Linked DNA regions of Homo sapiens: region 1 is linked to region 2. The links are contacts of gene promoters, found by promoter capture Hi-C in blood cells and fetal thymus (Javierre and others, 2016). All regions are on one chromosome and are shown on one strand. Each heading gives the region's core, a stretch centred on a gene start or on the middle of the fragment in contact. The rest is flanking DNA. Distances are from core to core; before and after follow the strand shown. Region 1 has its middle 39 kb from the start of HBS1L. Region 2 holds the start of BCLAF1 (BCL2 associated transcription factor 1).

What was found. Contacts are between HindIII fragments. The CHiCAGO score rates a contact against its expected background, and 5 or more counts as called.
Region 1: a fragment that was not itself captured here is called in contact with the fragment with the promoter of BCLAF1 in region 2 in 1 of 17 cell types (fetal thymus); the score reaches 6.4 in fetal thymus.

Annotation. Positions count from the first base shown.
Region 1 is chr6:135,092,759-135,095,707 of GRCh38, forward strand. No RefSeq gene overlaps it. Among named protein-coding and RNA genes, the nearest start is that of HBS1L, 39 kb to the left of the region's middle. The HindIII fragment of the contact is 1,163 bases long and covers 897-2,059 here.
Region 2 is chr6:136,288,295-136,291,257 of GRCh38, forward strand. It overlaps BCLAF1 (BCL2 associated transcription factor 1), which reads right to left and starts at 1,552. Exons shown (of 13, transcript NM_014739.3): 1 at 1,419-1,552. LOC124901408 (a long non-coding RNA gene) reads left to right here and starts at 1,720. Exons shown (of 4, transcript XR_007059784.1): 1 at 1,720-1,863. RefSeq lists enhancers at 346-942, 468-587, 943-1,539, 958-1,077, 1,024-2,223 and 2 more. The HindIII fragment of the contact is 10,003 bases long and covers 1-2,963 here.

The DNA.
Region 1 (2,949 bases), core at 228-2,727, 1.2 Mb before region 2:
CATACTTTACCAAGAGCATTCTCCCAGTCTCTCTTTCCCCTCTATGCATAGGTGAGGTCTAAAATTTCATTTGAATTGAGCTCTAGATTTAGATCCTCCATGGAACTTTTATCAACATACTCAGTTTTCAATGGCCCCCACTGATCCCCCTCTAACTCTCTGTAGAACACGTCTAATATCTCTCTGAATTTTTTGACATATCTAACTCCATGCCCTAAATCATACAAGATTGTGATTGCGAATGACCATGGAAATCTTCCCTTTATATTGTCCCTTGACTATGTTATGCTCATACTTGTATTGCAAATTGCTGATGCATTTCACTTTGCCTGAAACACCTTCCCCTTCCACGCAACCTGTCCAAATCCTATTCACCTTTCAAGGGTAAGTTTAAGTTTTTGACCTCTCTCAAGAACTTAACAACCACTTTAGCTCATGCAGTGTGCACTGCTTGAATTTTTAATTTGAACAATTGAGTTTGTTCTGTGCCACATCTATATTTATCTGCTGATGTGTGTTATTCATGATTTTTCCTTCAAGCTCTTTAAGATAGGAACTTTTTTTTTTTTTTTTTAGGCACAAGGTCTCACTCCGTTGCCCAGGCTGGTCTCAAACTCCTGGGCTCAAGCAGTCCTCCCACCTCAGCCTCTCGAAGTGCTGGGATCACAGGCGTGACCACACCTGGCCAACATAGGAACTTTTATTATACTTTTTGGATATTAGAATTCTGCCCCTGGCATATACTTACTCTGTGGCCTTGGGCAAGTCACTCAATCTCTAAGAGTCTCAATTTCCTCATTCGTTAAATGGGGAAAATGTACGAAAAGGGACCTATCAAAGTGCCTGGCATACAGTAAGTTCTCATTAAATGTCTGTTATTTACATAATAGTTTATAAGCTTCTATCGCATCCCATTCCTCGCCAGTCTGTCCATGTGTACATAAAGACTACTCGTTGCATTAATTATTTCATCCTTAGACTGGTGCAGTTCTAATCTTTAAAATGGTTTGTTGCTCACCACAGTGACCACAACTAATGATATGCTATCCAGGGGACAAACACTCCCACAGGCTGGTGCTTTGTAAGTGATATATTGAAGGAAAACATCGTCATCTTTTCCATGTATAATAACATCTGCCTCCTTAACAAGGGTTTTGTGAGGTTCAAATGAGATAAACCATGTGAAAGTGTTTTATAGCTATTATAAAGTACTATAATAGATGTTATTATTATTCCAATGTCCTTATATATAACTTTCTTTCAATTCAGTTGCTTTCCCAGATGCAGTAAAAGAGGCTGCAAACCATTCTCGAGGACCCCTCATTCATTCATTCATTCTCGTTGTTGACAGATCTTTACTGATCTCCTATTAGAGACAGAGTAAATGTGCTAGTCACAAGAGGGGCATATGAAGATGTAATATCTCAGCCGGGTGCAGTGGGTCATGCCTGTAATCCCACACTTTGGGAGGCTGAGGCAGGAGGATTGATTGAACCTAGGAGTTGAAGGCTGCAGTGAGCCATGATCGTGCCACTACACTCCAGCCTGAGCAACAGAGTGACAGCTTATCTCAAAAAAAAAAAAACAGTTATAATACCTGTACCCTCAAAACACTTCATATTATCCTTTTTTTCCTTCTCACCTTTTACCTTAAGCCATCCTGTTTATCAACTGAACATTTTATGTGTCTGCACATGAGACAGGATGGGGTGGGGAAAGAAGCTGAGTAGGTGACACCGAAGGGGACTCATCTATATGATCAGCCCTGTTGTACCATGTGAACCACAAGAACTTTATTTATAGGGTACTGAATCTTCTAGAGATGAAAAGTCTCAGCCCCAGAAAGCAATGCCAAATTATGAAAAATCTGGAGGAAGAAGAAAACCACCAAAGGGTATTCTTAAAAAAAAAAAAAAAGAAGAAGAAGAAGAAAGAAAAAAAGGTATACCTACTGAAGACTCTGACCACATATCATTATGACTCATAGTAAAATGGGTCTTGGTGATTCACTGCTACTTATTTGTTTTAAGCATGATAATTATCTTTACTGCTTAAATTAAGCTTTTCTTATTTCCAAAAACAATTTTTTAAAACCCTTGAGGCTTTGTTGGATTTTTATTCCATTGTTAAATAAGATTAAATACTCTGAGCTTTTCAGGTCTAACATTAGACTTGGTTACATTTTTGTAATACAGGATGTCTTTTGAGTTTCCATTCTAGATCACTTTTTGAAAGAATAAGATTTTTAAAATTTCTCATCAACTGTAAAATAGAATTGTAAAAGATATTGCTAAACAATGCTATTTCAATGTTTTTCCAACACTGAGCCTGTGAAGGTAAGCAAAGGAAGAGAGAGAAGTAAAAGGTGGGAGGGAAAAGTCTTTGCGATATTTTCACTGCCTTTACTTAAATGAGTATTAACTGATTTCAAAACCAATATCAATTTTACAGTAAATGAGTTTTGACATGTGCATGATTATGGTTATATTCTAAGTGAAAATGGCCTGGCCTGGGGCTGAGAATCTCCTGAGACACTAACCACTTCAGCTATTCTCACTACTATACCTGTTCTTTAATGGGTGAATTCATCTGATAGGTAGGTTGGATACAACTGAACTCTCCATTAAATAATTGGGTTTATGTTTTAAAATGCTAACAATTTCTGAATTAGGAAAAAATTTAATATACTCTAAAGAAATAGCAAAAGCCTAGCCTCCAAACACCAGATTGCTTCCCTTGCCTGGTCCTTGCTTTTGTAATTCTAGGCTTCTAGCATAGTACTTGGCACACACAGCTTGCTGTTCAATGAGCTACTTTCAAATTACAATGAAGTCATATAAAATGAGTGAAATTAAGAGATTAAGTATGTGTTTGTGCATATATATTTTAACAATCTCATCTGACTTGGCACAAAACTGTACTTTGCCAAGAATTTCATTATTTAATTAG
Region 2 (2,963 bases), core at 302-2,801:
CCGCTGGAGTGCAGTGGGACGAGCACAGCTCACAGCAGCCTCAAACTCCCGCCGAGGGGCCACTTTTTCCCTCCCATCAAATTACCTATCCTGAATTGGTCATGATCAAACAAAAATACAAAAGCCTTGTAGCAGTTTTTCCTACGTAAAGGTTATTTACTGCCTGAACAGTATCCTAACCATTCCAACTAAAGTCGAACTGAAATGAGAATTCACAAGAGGAACAAGAAATTTTGTTTTGCTTTGTAACACCAAAAAATTTAAAAGAGGCTGTTGCAGTGAGGTACAAGTCTGAAGTAGCTCATCTTTTTCGTCAGTGTTAGCCACACTTGCTTTCAACTTCAGTCTTAATTTGTTTCCAGTTCTAAAATGCTTTTTAAAAAAGTCTGAGGTAGCAAAGTAGCTGCTGGTACTTCAGCTTGATTCTGAAGAAATAAATCTTAAAAGCGAATCAAGCCAACTCATGAATTTAAAATGAAGGCAAAGTCCAATTCGCCACTCCCACCCATTTCTCACACCAGCTGTCCACCAATCGTGGCTGCAACATTTCTGACACGACTAAATGGGCTGAATCACTTGAAAAGACTCGGCTTCGCTAGTACTCATGAAGAACCGCACTTTCAGCCGGATGGGGCAGGGCCACGCTCAGAACCACCAGCTAAGACCCAATCCTCTCGCTAGGGAACCGTAACTAGGCAACCAGCACCAGTCAACAGCGCGCGCTCGCTTCAAAACAGCAGGTTGCCGCGGGTACCGAAATTAACTCCAGAGAACCAGGGTCAGCAGCGAGAGGCAGAACAGAGCACTAAAACCTAGTAGCATCACAAAAACGAGGCATTAACTGACGGGTGGTCTGAAGCCGGAGGGCAGTTTTAAAGACCACGCGAAAAGGGGTAGACCTACTCAACGCACTTTGCTGCGGGTCACAGTTATTTTCTCAAAACCCCACAGGCCACGAAGAAAGGTGGCAGTCCCAGCCAATGAGAGGCGGACACAAGTTGCACCTCCAGCGGCCGTCGGCGCCATAGGCGGGGGAGAGAAAAATGAACGAGCGCGCGTGCGCGGAGCGTTCAGTCGGGCGCGCGCAGAGGTACGGGCTGAAGAAATGGGGGAAGGGTGGAAGAGGAAGATATGCGCACGCGCACGGGAGGCCGCGCGGGCTGTGGGTCTCCAGGCAGGTTCGCAAACACGCGCGCGCCCGCCGTTAGCACTGCTCAGCGCCCCCGCCCGGCCTTTTCGGCCCGTAGTGCCTCGAAAACCTGAGAGAAGCTAACGAAAAAACGCATAAATAACGGCGCAACGTCTCCTTGGTTCTCCTTTCGCCGCCAACCCGACACCACCCACAAAAGAGTCAAAAATATGGCCTGTCCTCGGTCTTCACTGCCCCTGGAGTAACTTGAATACATTGCGAGGCCTACCTGACACGCCGAATCGCGGTTCCGGGAATTTATCTCCGTTGCAACCACACAGCGGCCATTTCCCGACTCAAGAACGCGAGGAAAACCATAGAGCTACCTTCGACGCGCTAGCACGTCTCCGTCACTTCCGATCTGGGGCGTGGCCTCGGGTGCCGCTAAATATGCGGGCAAGCCCCGCCCACCCTTCCGCTCCGGTCCGGCTTCCTGGCTGCTATTAAGATGTTGCCTGCGGCCTTCTGGGAAGTCGCGTGGCTGGTCTCGCGGGAAGATGTGACGGCTCCGCCCTCTGGCCCGTAGCGTCAGCCTTGGCCGGAGAGGCGGTAGAGTAGGGTGGGTGTTTTGTCAGGCCTGAGTTAGCTTCGCCATACGGCGCTTTTCGCTGGTGTCTCTGCCTCGTTCTGAGTAGACCCCCTAGACCTCACCGCCGCCCCTGCGTTTTACCTCAGTAAGCTCGTCTGGTCTGTTCTTTCTGTGGGGCCGGCTCAGACCAGGCAAAAAACAAAAAGACAATCCCACACTGAGGAAAAGACCAGGAGGCAAGACGTGGCTGTAATTGCAGACACGCTGCTCCCTCAGCCAGCAAGCGCCACTTTTCCTCTTGGACGCCTAACTGGAGATTAGAAAATGTGGCTTTTGGTTTGCTATTAAATTCGGCAGACGCACTTAGTTGAAAAATGGCCACGATCTAAATCCCTTTCGTGGCGTCTGATCAAATCGGAGCTCAAGCCGCAGCAGCCGGAAACCTCTTAGGCTGCTCGTGCCAAAGAAGGCCGCCCTTCTGGCGGCGTGATGACAGCTTTACCACATCGGCAACGTTGGCATAGGCATGAAAAAATAAAGAGCACGAAGCAGTTGAGCTTTCAGCCTGTGACGATGATTTGTGGCAGCCGAGGAACACAGCCCAACGTAGCTTGGTTGTCCAGAATTATAAGTCAGATTATAAATAGGCAAGCCACATTCGATTTGAATAGAATTTAAATAACAGCCGTAGCACATTTTGCATTAATACTTCTCCGGGCTGCACTTTCTTAGGGCCTAAAACCGCTATTGCTTTGATGTTTAGAGATGTTAACTACCTTGATGGATTTCAGACTTGTAATTAGCAACCAGGGTGTCAGTGAGTGAATCGAAACTAGGATTGGGCCCTGGTTGTGAATTTAACACTGTGCTTAGAGCATTCTTTCTTCACAGTCCAGTTTACCAGCTGAACTAGAAAAACGACAACATTTTCATGGAGTGAATCGTAGGTTTTTTATTGTACAGTCTGTCCCTCACCCCATTACCACCTCAGGATGTGGACACAGAAATCCTTGGCCTTTTTGTTGTGCCCTGATGTCCCAAGCATTCGCAGGTTCTCAGAAATATTTGTTGAGTGAATGAACTATATTTAAAAAAAAAACAACTAAGGGCTCAATACACGTCTGCTATTCTGCATGTATTGGGAGTCGGGGCGCTCCCAATACATGCTGTTATTCATTTATTCAAAATACCCCAAATTGCAGGCTAGGATATTATCTTCGACCTCCCTCTGCAATTCTATTGCAC